Linked DNA regions of Homo sapiens: regions 1, 2, 3 and 4 are each linked to region 5. The links are contacts of gene promoters, found by promoter capture Hi-C in blood cells and fetal thymus (Javierre and others, 2016). All regions are on one chromosome and are shown on one strand. The core of a region is centred on a gene start or on the middle of the fragment in contact, and the rest is flanking DNA. Distances in the headings are between cores, read along the strand shown.

Region 1 (3,464 bases), core at 461-2,960, 630 kb before region 5:
TGTGGTGGGAATGTCAGGAAATGTGAGTAGGGCTCAACTATGCCATGCAAAGGAGTTAGGTTTCATACTCTTAGCAACTGGGAGCCTTGGAAGGATTTTGAGGCAGAGAGATACCATCAGATTTATGTGTTATAAAGATCACTCCAGCAGCAGAATGGAGGCTACATTGGAGGCAACATCAGTCTAGAGGAGAAAGACCAGTCAGAAATCTAGGTCTTGACCAGGTGAGAGACAATGATGGGGTGGAGAGGAGGGAATGGATTTGAAAGATAATAACAGGCTCAGATCAATAGGACTTGGTGATTGACCTCATGTGAGCTGAGAAGGACTCAGGTTTCTGGCTCTAGTGATTAGGTGAATGGTAGGGCCATTTCTCTGAAATAGGATTCTGGAGGAGGGGGCACCACCTCCCTCTGCTGACCCCAGTTCTGCCACTCACTAGCTGTCTGCACCTGACACGTTACTTGACGTTTCTAAGTCTCATTTCTCTTCATCTATAAAATGAAGTTGTGACCTTAGCTGTAATGGTATGTAGGGGGCACTCCATCCATGAAGACTACCAACAATAACAATCCAAGAAAATCATTATTTTGAACGTTAAAATATGTATTTTACTTTCTCCAAGTAATACAATGCTTTAGCGTAGTAAAAAACGCATATGCCTTCAGAAAGTCTTGAATTATGTACATATATATAGTCGTATTGACTTGTATTTGCATAAAGAAGCAGTGGAAAGACATACAAAGGACTATTTCATAATAGTTACTTAAGGGATGGGGACAGGTGCATGGGCTGGGGAGGATGGGGAGGACGAAGACAGGCACAGTAACAAGGTTTTTCAGTAGGTTCTCTTTCACATTGTTTTAATTTTTGAGCCATGGTTGTATCACCTATTTAAAAATATGAAAATAAGGTTGATGGGTGCAGCAAACCACCATGGCACATGTATACCTACTTATCAAACCTGCACGTTCAGCACAAGTATCCCAGAACTTAAAGTAAAATTATTAAATAAATAAAATAAAACATATAAAAATTAAAACATAAAATTTGGGGTGACTTTAATGGTGTGAATTTCAGGCAAGTGTTCAATGGTTCTCACCAAAAGGCCTGGGGTTCTTTTACCCCCATTGTTTTTTGCTTAACCCGTGTACTTTCCGGAGTTTTCTTCCCAACTTTTTCTCTTGGCTAACTCCCACTTCACCTCAGGTCTTGGCTCAAATATCACTTTCTTCCCGTATCCTCACTTTCTCTGCTATCCTGTGTGCTTTAGATTCTCCTCTCCTGTTTTCTCACGGGGTGTTATGAGAACTGCTGCTGTGATTTTTCTCACATTGGGCTGTAATTATTGATTAACTTGTCCTTCTACCCATTTGACTATGAACGCTTTGCCTCTATTCATAGCTTATAATAAATGTTCAAGAAATTTTTATTGAATGAATCCTGCCATGTAGGTGTAGGGACCTTATACCATGGAATTCTGGAGACAGCTTCGATTTCAAGCATTTGTTCCTTTGTTTCCTTAAGCACTAATCAGGCCAATGTACTGATTCTTCCTTTTCTCCCTACTCCCTTCCCTTCCCCTCCCCTCCTCCCTCCCTCCTTCCCTCCTTCCCTTCTTTTTTTTCTTTCTTTTTCCTTTCTTCCTTTTTCTAAAATACACATAAATGTGCTCATCTATTCTGGTCTTAATTGTAGTTGCTGAGTAAGAAGTAGAAATCTTTCAGCTCTGATGTTGACACAAACAAAGGCAAAAAATTATTTTTATATAATCCCAGGGCTGAAGGGAAACCAGGGGACTTAAAAGAAATTTAGAAGCTGTGTCTCTTCTATACGTAGACTGTGAGCTCTTTCAAAGCAGAGATGGCATCTTTTCCACCTTTGTGCCTCTGGTATATTGCACATGGCCTGTTACCTAGTATGTGCTCAATAAATGAGTGCTAAACTTAATTACAAAAATTAACATGGCATATTTTGCCTTCTCTTGAGAATTTTTGTCTGAAGTTGAAGAACTCTGTATTTTGAAAATTAAATCTATACAGAAGTAGGAAAATGGTAAAAATTATGGAATCGAGGGATAGATAGACCTGGATTCAAATTCATATTCTTTTTTCATCATTAACTGTAACTGCATGGCCATAGCTAAACCACTTAACTCATCTGAGCCTGTCCTCATTTGTAAAACACACACACACACACACACACACACACACACAGTCTCCCATGGTTATTAAAATAATTAAATGGGATAACCTAAGTAAAGGCCTTAGTACATGCTGAACACTTGGTACTTGCTTATTGTTATTTCATTGAACATGTTATGCTCAACAAGTTATCTAGCTAATATATGCAAAGTTTTGCAAGGCCAGGCCAAAGGCACAGGTCTTAAAATTATAAAAGCTGAAGGAGTTGCAACCAAGAAAGGAAATAATTAGGGAAGAGAGACTGGATCAGAAGCCAGGCAGCTAAGGGTACTGGCTTTTCAAATTGTGTTCTTTTGTTAAGACTAAAATTGGAAGACAGGAGAAGCAGGGCTTTTGGAATTGTGGATACCAAGCACCACTAAATGATTAAAGCAAAGTGCAGTGCTGGCTGGTGGCCGTGTGCTTGTTATCTTGGAAGTGCAACCCTTGTGTCCTGTATCTGATTCATTTTCAACAATTTTTTTTTTTTTTTTGTGGGTGGGGAAGAAAGAGGAGGGATGACAGAGAAAGGTTGGAAGATACACAGGAGAGATATTTGAGGGGAGGAGCAAATAGACTAATATTCTCAGTGCTTTTTAACTCATTGATTGCCAGGAGCCTGGGTGAGGCAAAGCATTGGTTTATTCAGCTTTTATTCAGCTCAGTGCCCTGTTGACAACACAATGTGTCTGAGTCACAGGGGGTCAAGTGACTGTAGCTTCTCTGATGAGTCACTGTCTTGTTTCCACTAATGTCTCCGTGGCTGGGGCCAATTTGTTTACTGAGAGAAAGCTACAGCTGTCTGCAGGTACAGACATTTGTACTCCAGAACTTACCAGCAGAGCCAAGCAGTGTGGATGTGAGGAGCTTTTGCACTCCTGGAAGGTCCTCACGGGTAACAGGCAGTGGGAGCTGCTTGATGTGATATGATGATGCTCTTTCCTTTGATTTGGTATCAAGAGAAGCAACTGTTTAGAATTAGAGCTCAGAGGATTGAGCAAGAGTTAGAAGGTGGGAACAGGACTAACATATATCACCCAGGAACCCAGTAAGACATATGGCATATTCACAGTAGGCAATTGAAGGGTGCTGGGTAGAGAGACTATTCACAAGGGTGTGAGCAGGGTTCAGGGAAACCAGCAAGGGATGGTGCAGGGTCTCAGAGAAAGCAAGTGTGGGGAGCCATTACTTGGCTGAAGAAGCATGAGTGGGGAGAGTGGCTATTGGAGCACGGGGGAGTAGAAGTTGGAGAAAGTCACCTGAGAGGAGCAGTGGCCATCA
Region 2 (3,967 bases), core at 857-3,356, 670 kb before region 5:
CATAGAATTACCATGTGATCCAGCAGTTCTACTCCTATATATTCTAAATAACTAAAAACACACTTTTCACACAAATTCTTGTACATTAATGTTCATAGCAAGACTACTCATAATAGCCAAATAGTGGAAACAACCCAAACTCCCTCTATGGATAAATAGATATACCACATTTATCTACACAATGGAATATTATCAGTCATAAAATGGAATATATATATACTGTTGTATGCTATGACAAAGATGAACCTTGAAAACATTATACTAAGTAGAAGAAGTCAGACACAAAAGACCACATAATATATAATTCTGTTCATGCGAAACATCCAGAATAGGCACATCTATTAAAGACAGAAAATAGGTAAGCAGTTTCAACAGGAAGGAGGGGAAAATAGGACTAATTGCTAAGAGGTAGGGATGATGGAAATGTTCTGGAATTAGACAGTGGTAATGATTGCACAGCATTGTGAATGTACTAGAAAACACAAAAGTGCATACTTTTTTATTTTTTATGTTTTGAGACAGGGTCTCACTCTGTCACCCAGGCTGGAGTGTAGCGGTACAATCACAGCTCACTGCAGTTTTGAGCCACTCCCACCCCCAACCCTGCCAGCCCCAGGCTCTGGTGATTCTCCCACCTCAACTTCCCAAGTAGCTGGGATCATATGCATACACCATCATGCCCTGCTAATTTTTAAATTGTTTTGTAGAGACAGGGTCTCCCTATGTTACCCAGGCTGGTTTTGAACTCCTGGCTTCAAGTAATCCTCCTGCTTCAGCCTCCCAAAGATCTGGGATTACAGGTGTGAGCCACCATGCCTGCCCAGTGTACACTTTTAGATGGTGAATTTTATGTGAAGCATATCTCAGTTCAAAAAATCTTATTAAAAAAAAATCAGCCCAGCATGGTAGCTCATGTCTAGATCATTCTGATTCCAAATCCCAACCTTAACTTCTGTGCTATATAGTTTCTAGCTAAGGGTTCCCTCTTCTGTCAGCTGTCTTCAGAAATATACCATATTCTCTGAGGACATTTCTCTTTTGAGTCTTCAAACACCAGAGCTTACATGATGAACTGTTTAAAATTTTTTAAAAATTAAAAAAATGAAAAACATCAGAGCTGCTGCTTGGATGAAATTTTGACACGTGGAAATTTTTTTTCTACTGTATGTCAGCAGTGAGGATGAAGATATACTATTCAAAGATGAGATGAATTAAGAACAGTAAAATGTTTTGGCACCATAATTTGTGATTCTTCTTAGGAAAAGGTCATTCGTGCAGCCCCATGGCAAGAAAACAGTTTTAGTTTTAGAGAAGTATTACATACTATAACTTTTTTGTTGGACTAAAGGGAGTTTTGTTTTTCTGGTTTCTTTGAGGACTCTGGATCTGAACGTTAAAAAATCCTCTGGGTGGAGTACTCAAGTGAATTTTATTTATTAAATGCTGTTTTAAAATCCATTCCCTTAGTGGTAGAAAAATATTGTTATGGGCTGAGGACAGAGAGCATCTATAAAAATGGGATACATGAGATGGTCATGGGTTAGAGTGCTAGAGTGTAGGAGAAAAACAAAATGTTTTTCAAGTTTTTCTTTTCCTGCAAAGAAACTGAAGTTTGGAATAAAATTATGAAGAAAACAGTCTAATAGCTTACCCTTGTGGTTTTTCCCAGTATCCAGGCTGTAGAAAACAAAGACAGTCAAAAGGAGGCTTTGTGAGCCCCCTCATATAGGGGTCAAATGTATTCATGCACAGCCTGTTAACCTTGGCATCATTCCTTCATCTCCCCAGTCTTGCAGCTTTCAAAATGTTATTGCCTACTGGCCCCAAAGGCAAACAACTTGCAATGTATAATATGCCCTATATTAATGCCTTGCAGTCCATGCATATGAGGAAACCAATCCATCAACAGACGCCCTTAGTGACAGAGTAGGAAACTACTGCACAAAGAAAATCCTGGGAATCAAATACAATACCAGAGGCAGTCACGGCTCAATTCGCTCAGTCATATATAACTTTTTTTTTTCACTTACTTGTAATCAATTGGAATTTTGCCTTAATTATATATGTATAGGTATATATATTTAAGAAAGCAGTGTGTAATCATCTATGTTGAAACGAATTTGTTAATCTTGTACAAGGCTGGCACATTCACCCAAAGGGATTCTCTGCCAATGTGAAAATTAACTCTGTAGCTCTGAGCCTCTCCTTCCCATGGATTCAGTGTATGAGAAAAATTCTTGGCCAATCACAAGTGCTATACAAACTAAAAAATACTATGATGCACTGGGCATGGTGGCTTACACCTGTAATCCTACCGCTTTGAGAGACTGAGGTGGGAGGATCCCTTGAAGTCAGCAGTTTGAGACCAGCCTGGGCAACATAGGGAGAGCCTGTCTCTACAAAAATATATATTTTTTTAAATTAGCCAGGCATGGAGGCTCGTACCTGTAGTCCCAGCTACTTGGGAGACTGAGGTGGAAGGATCACTTGAGCCCATGAAGTCGAGGCTGCAGTAAGCTGTGACTGCACCACTGCACTCCAGCCTGGGTGACACAGTGAGACCCTGTCTTATATAAACAAACAAACAAACAAATAAATAAATAAATAAGTAGCTATTATCATCATCCCAATCTTAGGAATCCAATATCAGCTTGATAGTCACTTTTCAGGTCAACAATATCGTCAAGAAAAGTGTTGACACTCAGCTAATAAAATGGCAGAATGTTACCCTAGGATGTTATTGTGTCTGCCTTCTATTATCCCAAGATACAGGAGAACATTCATTTTTAAACTTCTCAAATGTGGAAAACAAACCCATTTGCTAAGATGATTTCCAATTTGAAATAGTTTCCAGCATTATATGAGCCACTCCCTGTACACCAAAGAGACATTCCCTTTACTTAATTTTATATCCCACTCGTGAAACATTTTCATGTGTTGGACCTACCAACTCCAACTGGATACCACTGACAGGAAGTGAGAAGGGTATGAGCCCTGGGGTAGGCATGCAGGGTGGGGAGACTGGCTTTTAGCTCTGGCTCTGGTTTTTACTGGAGTGATAACCTCTAAATTCTTTTCTAGCAACAGTTCTACAAATAATACCCCTTTCTCCTTCCCCGTTTCTTTCTACAGACTATTTCTTCAGTCATCCAGAGGCCGATGTAGGAGTCATTTATGAGTCCCTCAGTCTTTTATTCCCCCTATTCAATCAGTCATCAAGTGCCTCAGTCTTTCCTGAGAACATCTCTCAGATCAGGTCTTTCTGTCATGACTCTGCTTCTCTGTTGACTTCCTGTGGCCTGACAGGCTGAAGCTAAATATGTGGAATAGAAGACTCCTCAAAACCTGCCCTTTACCTCAGCCTCTAGTTGTATCTTCTGCTGCTTTCTCCCCACTGTGACCTTCTGCCCCAACCACACATACTCTCTCTCTCTCTTTCTCTCTTCTGTTTATGTTCCGTATTAGTTTCCTATCACTACTGTAACAAATTACCAAAAACTAGTACTATATGCAATACAAATTTATTATCTTACAGTTGGATCAGTCAGAAGTCTGACAAGTCTCAATAAATTAAAATCAAGGTGTCAATAGGGCCGTATTTCTTCTGGAGGCTCTACAGGAGAATTCATTTCTTTTCCTTTTCCAGGTTCTAGAGGTCACCGCCTTTCCTTGGTTCATGGCTGCTTTCCTTCATCTTCAAAGCCAGAAACATTGGGCCAAGCCCTTCTGTCTCTCCCTCTTCTACTTTAAAAGACCCTTGTGGCCCAGCCTGGCCAACATGGTGAGACTACTAAAAATACAAAAATCAGCTGGGTGTGTGCACGCCTGTAATCCGTAGCTACTCAAGAGGCTGAGGCAGGAGAATTGCTTGAACCTGGGAGGCGGAGGTTGCAGTGAGCCAAGATCGTGCCACTGCACTCCAGACTGGGCAACAGAGTAAGACTCCGTCTCAAAAAAAAAAAAAAAA
Region 3 (3,645 bases), core at 269-2,768, 700 kb before region 5:
TCTCTCCCTTCGTAGGGAAATACTCTCAGGAAAGCAAGGTTAAAGCAAGCAAAAAAGCATGTGATTTTTATAAAATATAAAGTATATACTAATTACAGACCTCCTGGCAAACAAACTAATGGCATTTGCTAGCAAGAGAGTCCATATTTACGGAATTCCTCTAACAGGATGTCCCAGGGCTGGGATTGTTTATGGTAAACACATTAAGAATCGATGTGGTAATTCCAGCACTTTGGGAGGCTGAGGCAGGTGGATCACTTGAGGTCAGGAGTTACCAGCCTGGCCAACATGGCAAAACCCCGTCTCTACCAAAACTACAAAAATTAGCTGAGTGTGGTGGTGTACACTTGTAACACCAGCTACTCAGGAGGCTGAGGCAGAAGAATAGCTTGCACTGGAGATGCGGAGGTTGCAGTGAGCAGAGATCGCGCCACCGCCCTCCATCCTGGTCAACAGAATGAGACTCCCTCTCACAAAACAAAAAAGAATCAATGCGGATTTCAGGGGTATGATTAACTGGAAAATACCGCGGAAGTTATGTAACGTAGCATAAAATGGAAGTGTTTTGTAACTGATTTGGCTCCTTCTGTGTAAGTGGGGTGACTGTACACTTGATTTAGAAACCACATCTACTGTCCTGGGCCAGGATGCATCCAAAGCAAGAAGAAAGGACCTGGGGATTACTGGTATCCTTGAAACTATTAGTAAAGCTTGATACTGAGTAAAATCTCTGATTTGAGCCTGATTTGACAGTTTGATCTTTTGTGTTAGCTCAATAGCAAAAATAAAAAAAATTTGATACTACAATATTGGGTGTGTGTATGTGTGGTATGGGAGCAGCGTGGGAGGAACAAGCATTCTTAAACAGTAAGAGTATAAAAATTGGTGCATTTTTAAAAATTTCATGGTAATTATATGTATCAAAATTTTATATGAAGTTCTTTTTGATCTAATAATTTTACTTCTAAAATTTATCCCATGGGTATACAGGTTGTATATAAAAGTATTCTATAAAAATATCTGTTACAGGATTTTTGTAACAGAGTGAAAAAAAAAACTCTAAATGTTCAGCAATAGGAAATTGCTGAAATGAGTCATAGTCTAGCCATTCAATAGAATAGTATGCAGCCATTAAAATGAACTAGATAGATCTATATGTGCTGACATGGAATACCTCTATGATGCTATAAGGTGAGAAAAGTAAGGTGCAAAATAGTGTGTAGACTCTACTTCCATTTGAGCATCACACACACACACACACACACACACACACACACACCAGGAGGACTGTGAATCTGGCATGGAAAGTGTTATGGACTGAATTATGTCCCCTCAAAATTCATATGTTGAAGTCTTAACTTCCAGTGTGACTAGATTTGGAGATAGGGCCTTTAGGACAATAATTAAGGTTAAATGAAATCAAAAAGGCAAAACCCTAATCCTGTAGGGCTAGTGTCTGAGTGCATGGGCACAGAGAAGAGGCCATATGAGAACACAGAAGATGGCCATTTGCAGTCCAGAAAGAGAGGCCACACCATAAGCCAACCCTGATGACTCCTTGATCCTGGACTTTTAGCCTCTAGGACTGTGAGAAAATAAATTTCTGTAGTTAAGCCACCTAGTCCATGGTATTTCATTATAGCAGCCCTAGAAGACTAATACAGAAGGGAAACTTTCTTGATGTGTAGTGTTTTGTACTATTGGAATATCTTTACCATGTATATCAGTTTTTCAATTAAAACAATGGTAGAGGCACTCTCTTCCCCTAAAATTGGGACCACTGGACCAGTTAATTTAAAAAGTCAGTTACAGTGGTACATATTTAAAAATGGCAAATATATACTTTAGTCATTTTATTTTGACTCAAATGTATATGTTCACTCACCAGTCTTGGTAGTAGGCCCAAGACCTTTTATCTGAGCATGAATTTGCTGGTTGGAACACCTGCTTTGTCTTTGTTACAAGTTGCATTGTTTACAGTTTACAGTTTCATTTTCTTCAAAGTGGAATAAGAAGTTAAAGACACCTTTCAAGCAATTTGAATGCCCAGTCAGTCTAGATTTTTGTACAATTTTTTCTCCAAAGTTTTACAGGTTTGTCTTACCTGTGCCTAGTTCTATAGTAATTTTTGTTTGTTGTTCATGTTTATCAATTTAGTTTTTATAGAAAATAACTTTCTATTTGTATTTCATTAGTTTACATATTTAAATATATTCTATAAGTATAATAGGCATAAATACTTTGGAGTACAAATGCAAATTGACTCTTGTAAGCATGTAACTCAATTAGTTTGGAGAAGAAGTATACAGATATCATGTAGTTAACCATAAGCTTTTCATGCTTAGAGTGCCTTGGTGTTATATAAATATGATATTAGTTTATTTTAGTTTTGATTTTGAATGCTTTTAAATCCTCTATCCAGATTCATTAATAACGCTTTTCTAATGCTGACCTCAACTCCTAAATGGATTTCATGACAGTGTGAATAAAAACAAAATAGTTCAGCCCTCTTTTTGTCTCCAGGTAGATGAAGAAACAGAGTGCCAGAGAGTTTACGTGGTTTGTTAACATTTCACTAAGTTTGCTTTATTACTTCTCTTTAAATTTATATCTCCCCTCGGCATGCATTATTTGAAAATTAGTTATAGCTATCATGCCTCTTTACCCCTAAATACTTCATTAGATATCTCCTAAGAACAAGAACATTGTCTTCATAACTGTAATTCAGTTGTCAAATTCAGAAAATTTAACATTGATACAATATTATTTTCTATCAAAGCATCCATATCAAAGTTTGCCAGCCGTCTCAGTTATGTCCTTTGCAATGTGAGTATAGTCTACAGAGAAAATAGTAATGAGTAACAAAGCAAGAGGAATTTAGTTTTTAAAGATAAGTTCAACTATAGTTTAATTATTTTTAATATATATAATAATATGGGAAATGCCCTGATGCCTTCCTCATGAAACTTTAGATGTGACATTATAAGATGGTCTCAGGGAGGTGCTTTGTTTCTCTTCTAACTGTTCTTGTTTATTGAGGTAGTGACATGTTGCAAGAATTTTATCTTGGAGAAATTACCTCCCACAAAGATGGCAACATTAGAAGAACCTGCATAATAATATGCTCTAATTGTGTTACAAATTTATTTTACTACTCTGAAAGTTAAAAATGGTTACCATTTATTTTCTTGGTTTCATGCCTGTTTTCTTAAGAACTATGCTTAATGATTAGCATATGTTTCTGCACAAATCCTCTCTGATATCAAGTGTCATTTTCCTCATTTTATCATTTAGACCTCAAGGTTCTGAGATGACGTGTGATTTGTCCAAGGTTAGAGAATGGTACAACTGAGAACACTAGAAAATATCGCAGAGCAATAAGCTTAAATTGAGATAAATATTTTCTCTAAATGAATCACATGCTTTTCCCTTATAATAGAGATTAGGCGGCTGGGCGCGGTGGCTCGTGCCTGTAATCCCAGCACTTTGGGAGGCCGAGGCGGGCGGATTGCCTGAGGTCAGGAGTTTGAGACCAGCCTGGCTAACACAGTGAAACTCCATCTCTACTAAAAATATGAAAAAATTAGCCCGGCGTGGTGGCACACACCTGTAGTCCCAGCTACTCGGGAGGCTGAGGCAGGAGAA
Region 4 (3,640 bases), core at 405-2,904, 640 kb before region 5:
CAGGCTGGAGTGCATTGGCACCATCACGGCTCACCGCAGCCTTGACCTTTTGGGCTCAGATGATCCTCCCAACTCTCAGCCTTCCAGGTAGCTGGGACTACAGCATGTACCACCATACCTGGCTCATTTTTTGTAGAGACATCCACCTGCCTTGGCCTCCCAAAGTGTTGAGATTACAGGCATGAGCCACTGTGCCTGGCCACTCTATTTTTTTTTTTTCTCTTGAGCTTGTGCAGTGTCAGGATGGGTTATGGAGGCCCAGGGTCTGAGTCAGAGGAGCTCATCTGCCTGTCCTTGGTCAGATCACCCTCATGCTGTGCAGAGTTTGGAGCAGCACATTTGGGTGGCATGGCCAAGCTCTAGGCGTTATCAGAATAAGGTCTCAGTTAAATCTTAGGGGCAATGGTCTACAGAGGCACGAATTTACATGTCGCTTCCCACATTTGGAGGTGGGAAGAGACACTCATGGGTGATGATTATCAAGACTTAAGTATAAAAGAAGAAGGAAATTGGTTATGTGCTGAAGGCTGGAGAAAGACCAAGGGACAGAAGTGAGGCAGTTTTCGGCTTAATTTCCTACAAATGAAATTTGTACCAACGAAGACCAGTGTGTTCACCAGAACACTTGGTGGCTGCAGCCTGCTTACTCAAACCCTAGTCTGACTCCCCTCTGGAGCTTGCTGGATTGTGAGGAAAGTGGTGTGTGTACAGACAGCCATTGGCCTGAATCCCATCTTTTCCACTGGAGAGCTTTTCACTTTTGCCTTAATGACAAGCAAATGGTTCCTTATGGGAATTTTGCCTAACTTTAGGGGTGAGCGCTCTAGAGGAGGGGGGAGGGTTAGAAGCTTCAATGCCTACCAGACCAAGCAAGTAACAAATATGTGGAGTGAGTGAGCCAGGTATAAAACAAAAAGGCTAGGATGAGACCTGTGGCAAACCAGAGAATAAATATCCCCTCTAAAGGCAGCGGCTGTCCCAGCTGAGCTGTCTTGCAGGAGCACTGTCTTAGCATAGCTAGGTCTTTAAGAGAAGCCAGAAATCTCGTGCGTGTGTGCGTGTGTGTGTGTGTGTGTGTGTGTGTGTGTTGACATTAAAATGTTGGCCAATCAGTATACATTTTCAAGTTATAATCTATTTTGCATAGAGAGATTATAGGGGAGATAGCCTATGGAATTCCTGAGAATCTGGCATGCACCCAGCTTCTGAGTACAAAACAAGGAGCAAGCTGATAGCAATGAGTTACAAAAGTCTGGAAAAGTCTTATCTATGACCTCAATTTTCTTTAATGGCTACAGCTGAGTGGGGATGGTCCCATCATCCTTGGGAGAGTGTACAATTTAGCTTCCCAGGACTATCAGAGAACTGAATGAGAATAAATCACATGACAGTTTGTGCCCTCGCCCCTCCCCCCATCCTAAAAAAGTTCTGTGACAATGTAAAATTGGTAAGCCTGCCTATTGCCCTTCTCTGCCTTTTTGCCCTTGTCCCTCACCAATTTTTCAGTGTGTGCCTCCAGTCTTCTGTCATGGCTGCCTGCTAACTGGGCCTCTTCTCTAAGTCTGTCTTCTTATGGATTGGGTAGACCAGTAGTTATTTTTTTTTTTTTTTTGAGACAGGGTCTCACTCTGTTGTCCAGACTGGAGTGAAGTGGTATGATTTTGGCTCACTGCCACCTCTGCCTCCCAGGCTCAAGCAGTCCTCTTGCCTCAGCCTCCTGAGTAGCTGGGACTATAGGCGCACACCACCATGCCCAGCTCATTTTTGTGTTATTGGTAGTGACAGGGTTTCACCATGTTGTCCAGGCTGGTCTCGAACTGCTGGGCTCAAGCAATCTGCCTGCCTTGGCCTCCCAAAGTGCTAGGATTACAGATATGAGCCACAGTGCCTGGCAGAACCAGCAGTTATTCTCAGCTGCACATTGGAGTCATTGGATATGGTAAGCAGAATAATGTTCTCCCAAAGATGTCCATGTCCTAATCCTTGCAACCTATGAATGTTATGTTACACTACACAACAAAGGGAAATTAATGTAGCAGATGGATTTGATGTTGCTAATGAGCTGTCTTTAAAATAGGGAGATTATTCTGAGTAATCAGATACAGACACTGGGTGGACTCCACGTAATCTCAAGGGTCTTAAAATGTGGAAGAGGCAGGCAGAAGACTCAGTGTCAAGAGTGAAGCAATGTGAGGAAGACTCACCAGTCATTGCTGGCTTTGAAGACCATAGGCCACTAGCTAAGGAACATGGGCAGCCTCTAGAAGCTGGAGAAGGTAAGAAAACTAGAGCTTCCCTAGAGCTTCCAGCAGGGAGTGCAACTCTACCAATACCTTCAATGTAGCTCAGTGAGACCCATTTTGGACTCCTGATACGGAACTATAAGATAAGAATTTGTGTTGTTTTAAGCCGCTAAATTTGTAGTAACTTTACAGCAGCCATAGAAATTGAATATATCTGGGAAGCTTTAAAAAAATGCCTAGGCCTGGCCCCACCCCCACAGACTCTGATTTAATTGGTCTGGGGTGCAGCCTGTGCATAAGAATTTTAAAAAAGCTTTCCAGGTGATGGATGCTGTTTTGCAGCCAAAATTGAGGACCCCTGGAGAAGAGGTTCTGTGGATGGATATGTCACAAGGTAAGGAGGAAGGAATTGCCAGCTAGTCTCATTAATGACTGCTGGCTTAGCTCTGAAATGCAAACATCAGCAGTCACTTGGTAATTGGAACATACTCCCCTCCGACCTTCACATTAGCCCACACCTTAGCTCTTTGCCCTTTGAGTGATGGCAGTAGTGTGAGGAGTCAGCTTGTTGCATTGGACGATTTCCTCCATGGGGCACAGCAGCCTCACTCCCTGCTATAATTGGGCCCTGAGTGTACCTCCTAAGGACTGCTTAATAAAGCTCAAAGTCTAGTAAACCATAAGTCATACAGTTTCCCTCTTGTGGCTTGTCTTGCCATTTGATTCCTGCAGATTTGTTAACAGCTAAATGGTCGATAATAAAAACCATTAAGTTGGATTTTTCTTTTTTATATACCCAACTGGCATTTTTTTGGAGAGGTTGTTCTGTGCCAGACACTGTGCTTGTGTTGATAAAAAGAGGAAAGATAGCTTCTGCTCACCAACTAGCTGGGGAGAACAAATTACACAGCACGTGGATGACTTCAGCAACCACCTGTGCATAAAGTGTAAGGGCAGCATACAAGATGGTCAGATGTTTGCTTAGAGTCTTCTTAGATCCTCTTGCTAGGCAGACAAAAAAATCCAGCCTCAATAAAAACTGCCCCCTTAAAGTGACTGAAGGCTGGACTCATGGTTTTGTTTTTCTAGCCCACGTCTCACTTGGTTCCTGTGCTTCCCACTAGATGGCACTAGAAATCACATTTAAGTGCTTGGGTGGCTGTAAAAAATTCTTGGGAACCTGGCACTTCCAGGGGCTCTTTCACCTGAGCCGTATTTCCTGTGTCTTTCTCTGGTCAATGAAGACAGACTTCTACTTTACTTGTTGTTCTCTTGCTTCACCTAGTACCCTATGCCCTCTGCTCTTCCACCATCACCTGTTTCCTGTCCATGCACATGGAGACAGCACCATTTTCTCCAGTGGTGGAAGCCTGTATAAGGCAGAGATCCTTTTACCC
Region 5 (3,620 bases), core at 198-2,697:
TTATCCTTTCATTCAAACTCAGGCCAGTTTAATCATCGCCCTCACAGAAGTCCAGGTGGTTCTTGTTCTTTATGAAGTTTTGAAATGAGACCTCCCTGGAAATTCCATGCTGTGTTGATGTTCTACCAACCTTTCCTTGTTTTCAAAGGCAGGGGCTAGGCCTACAATAGATGAATTTGTCTCTGAGGCAGGACAACACAGCCAAGTTCCTAGAAAAAGAGAGACTGTGAACCTACGAAAGTTGTGAAAGGTCAAGAGTAGTACTGAGATAAAGTCAAATCAACTCAGTTTACTAAAAGTCTGAGAAAAATGTATGTGGTAGTCACCTTATGGGACATTAAAACTGCATTTCAGATTTGAAAATTATAATTCCTTGAATAATAATAGACATCTGTTAGCTATCGCTTATTGAGTACCTACTATGTGCTAAGTGCCTTATGTATCTTCTTTCACTTAATCCTCACCACCTTGTAAGTTAGTATTAGTCCTGCTTTGGTAAAAAAGCTGAGATTCAAGATGCTTAAGTAACTTTGCCCTAAGGTAACAGAGCAGAGCCAGGATTCAAACCAAAGTCTTATCCCAAAGCCTGTGTCTCACATTGTATCTCCCTCTAAAGCAGTTCTTAACTCAGTGGTTCACATATCCCTTAGGTATATCACATTGCATGCTTATATCTGGATTTGTGTAAATTTATAGGGATAATATCCATAGTTTTTATTGGTTCTCAAAGGCATGTTATTTGTATTTTTTAAGTTACCAATCCAAAGACAATAGTAAGCTGCACCATACAGAAAGGTATGAGCTCTATAGTTTAACCAAAATCAAAGCCTCAAAGAAACTAGACTCTTCTTCCATTAGCTGAGCTTAGCATCCTTTAAAGAGCTATCAATCTACTCAAAACAAGGAAACTCTTGAGAGGATCGAAGAAGATAATCATTCCTTTTTCACAATGAGAAAACTAAGAGTCAGAAACACCACAGCCATCCGGCAAATTTGAGAAAAAAAAAATTCATATTGCCCGACTTTATTTCTTCCATGATAGACCACAACAAATATTGCTTGGCAAGCCAGACACCGTTACCCCCTCTGCAGCAGGGATCCCAGCCCGGGAATCTTAAGGCCGCCGCCGGGGTTGGAGGGTCTGCGACGCCCAAAAGGGCAGCGCCCGCCCGCAGAGTGGGGCTGGGAGGGGACGGGGTAGGGTAGGGTGACCCCAGGGTGCGCCTTCACTCTTCTGGCACCCCATTTGGCTTTTTGGGTGGGCCTCCCACTTCCGCCGCCGCCCCTCACTCAGCCTTGGGTCTGCGGGAGGCAGCAGAGGAAAAGGAGCCCCGGAAACACTGACCGTTACACGGAACCCACCTACCCGAGAGTTCCTAGGGTTGCGCAGCTGGGGGACGGCGGCACCCAGCCTTTTTCCCGCTTCGGGGCGCCGGGGCTGCGACTGTGGCCAAGCACTTCCGGGTCCGCCGCAATCTCCTTAGCGAGGGCACCCTTCCCCGGCTGGAACCATCGCGACGTGACTGCTGCCCCCTCCTGGCTGCTCGAAGGACCTCCGGTCTCCTCTCCTGGAGACTGGCCCAAACCCGAATGCTCTGAGCCTAGGAAGGCAAATCCCCAGCAATCCCCTATTGAAAGATGGGATGTGCCATCTGAAGGACTGGGTAAGGCAAGAGAGGACAAGGAAAGAGGCTGGGCCAGTAGGTGAGAGATAATGGCCGCTTTTGTTGCGCTCCTTTATTAAGTCAGGCCCTCAGCTGGGACTTCCCGTGCATCCATGCGTTCATTCCACAGATACTGATTGAATGCCTGCATGTAACAAGCCATGCTTGGGGTGCTCATGATACAGCCGTGAATGAAACACACAAAAATTGCTGCTCTCATGAAACTCTCTTTTTTGGTGCATTGACCTTTACACTGATTATATCATCTCCCCCCTCAAAGAGGACAAATCTAAGGCTCAGATAAGTTGTATTTGTCCAAAGACAGGCACCTGGGAAGTAGATGAACAGAGATCAATATCCAGTTGTCTATAGCTTCAAAGCTTGGTTTTTTTCCTCTTTACCTCCTAAAAGAAGTGAGGACAAGATTGCTAATTAAACTGAGTTCATGGAAATATTAAAGGATATATAAACAGAAGGAAGTAATAAAGAAACAAAGGGATGTAGTAAAACACAGGATACAGTGGAAATAAAAGTCAGAAAACATGACCCATTTACTAGCTCAGTGACTCAAGGCAAATCACACTACCTGAGCTTTGATTTCTTCATCAGTAAAATGGAGATGACATTATTTGCACTTGGCTACTTTATAGGATGGTTAAAGAGTTAAATATAAAAATGGTTTGTAAAGTGTTCACTATATGGCTGCTATTAGCTGACTTTGGCCATCGTAATGATAGCAATGTTTAAGTGTGATATATTCTGTAAAATGTTCTCTATTTCCCTCTAGGCTTCTGTTCCAAAATTTGACAAGATTCCTTGGCTTAGTGAGGCCAGCCTTGTAAACAAGCCATTAGTGCTCAGCCTTCCCAGAAGGTAACCTCTCAGCCACCGAGGGCAAAAGTTTTACGAAACATCTCACAGAAGATGATTTCTTCTTAAGGGATGGGGACAATTATCAGAGGGCACATTTGATCCATTGAGAAACTCAAGTCAAGTGCTTTAAAAATAGAAATAATCCGGGTTTCTCAGAAAAAAATGATCACTGAGTATAGGCCTGGCTAGAGGAGATGAGATCTCAAAATTTTTCCCTCTCCACCACTACCACTCAACAGTATAAGATAATTTTTCCCCTAGACACTGTCTCTCAAAACACTTCCATCCTCTTTCTCACCCCACATTTTCTCCACTGCTGTAGTCTGAAATTTTCACATTTTTACCATCAAAAGTCTAGAACAGTAAGTTCCCATCTTTATAGAATAGTAACTCTGTATGTAACTTTGAGGCACCCTCCTACATTCCTGTTAGTCCTACTCCTTCCAAACAAACTACTATATGACACATAAATCTATTTTTCAAAATTGCAGGAATTACATATCTAGGGAGCATTTCAACTGTCTCTTGAAATAATTGGGTTACCGTGTCCCTTCTCCATTTTTGATGAAATGGTTCCTAAGTGTAGTGATAAACCCCACTCTGGGAAGGGGACATGGACAGAAGGGTAGGTGTGAGGTAGTGTTGGGGTGAATGAGAGAAACCAGAAAGAGGGCAGAGAGAAAGAGAAAGGGCAGGCATAGAGGCCATTCCAAAGGCACACGACAGACTAAAAAGGAATGACTCCTTGGCATTCGAAACAGCTCGTTAGAAAAGCCAGACTCCCCAAAAAGAGTTTCTCCTCCTGTTGATAACTACCATGTACCCTCCTGCCCATGGATAAGTGACTTCATAAGCAAATTCCCATCACTGTCTCCACATCCCCACTTTAGTAACATGTACCTTTGCTTTGTCTACTGTACATTAAAAAAAAATCTCATTCTCAGTAAATAGGTAGACGGTTTTAGTATTTTCAGAACAAAATTCACAAGTGCTTTCAAGTGCTCGTTATTCAGTTGTGTTATTTTTACATAATTTTGAATATAACGAAAGCAGATTATCAGAGGTTCAATAAACTCAAAGGCC

Evidence for each region. Contacts are between HindIII fragments. The CHiCAGO score rates a contact against its expected background, and 5 or more counts as called.
Region 1: a contact is called between a fragment that was not itself captured here and the fragment with the promoter of PIGC in region 5, in 1 of 17 cell types (naive B cells). The highest score is 5.0, in naive B cells.
Region 2: a fragment that was not itself captured here is called in contact with the fragment with the promoter of PIGC in region 5 in 4 of 17 cell types (total B cells, naive B cells, total CD8 T cells and 1 more); the score reaches 7.4 in total B cells.
Region 3: a fragment that was not itself captured here is called in contact with the fragment with the promoter of PIGC in region 5 in 1 of 17 cell types (total CD8 T cells); the score reaches 5.2 in total CD8 T cells.
Region 4: a contact is called between a fragment that was not itself captured here and the fragment with the promoter of PIGC in region 5, in 16 of 17 cell types (total B cells, naive B cells, naive CD8 T cells and 13 more). The highest score is 15.3, in total B cells.

What each region holds. Positions count from the first base shown.
Region 1 is chr1:171,814,966-171,818,429 of GRCh38, forward strand. No RefSeq gene overlaps it. Among named protein-coding and RNA genes, the nearest start is that of DNM3, 25 kb to the right of the region's middle. RefSeq lists enhancers at 2,057-3,043, 3,044-3,464. The HindIII fragment of the contact is 6,424 bases long and covers 1-3,464 here.
Region 2 is chr1:171,774,355-171,778,321 of GRCh38, forward strand. No RefSeq gene overlaps it. Among named protein-coding and RNA genes, the nearest start is that of METTL13, 5.3 kb to the right of the region's middle. The HindIII fragment of the contact is 4,827 bases long and covers 1-3,967 here.
Region 3 is chr1:171,744,631-171,748,275 of GRCh38, forward strand. No RefSeq gene overlaps it. Among named protein-coding and RNA genes, the nearest start is that of VAMP4, 4.4 kb to the left of the region's middle. The HindIII fragment of the contact is 1,621 bases long and covers 709-2,329 here.
Region 4 is chr1:171,798,231-171,801,870 of GRCh38, forward strand. No RefSeq gene overlaps it. Among named protein-coding and RNA genes, the nearest start is that of METTL13, 18 kb to the left of the region's middle. The HindIII fragment of the contact is 1,617 bases long and covers 847-2,463 here.
Region 5 is chr1:172,442,622-172,446,241 of GRCh38, forward strand. It overlaps PIGC (phosphatidylinositol glycan anchor biosynthesis class C), which reads right to left and starts at 1,448. Exons shown (of 2, transcript NM_153747.2): 1 at 1,367-1,448; 2 at 1-209. The coding sequence starts at 1. It overlaps C1orf105 (chromosome 1 open reading frame 105), which reads left to right. Exons shown (of 7, transcript NM_139240.4): 2 at 2,452-2,537. RefSeq lists enhancers at 1,280-1,803, 1,527-1,836. The HindIII fragment of the contact is 3,601 bases long and covers 1-2,042 here.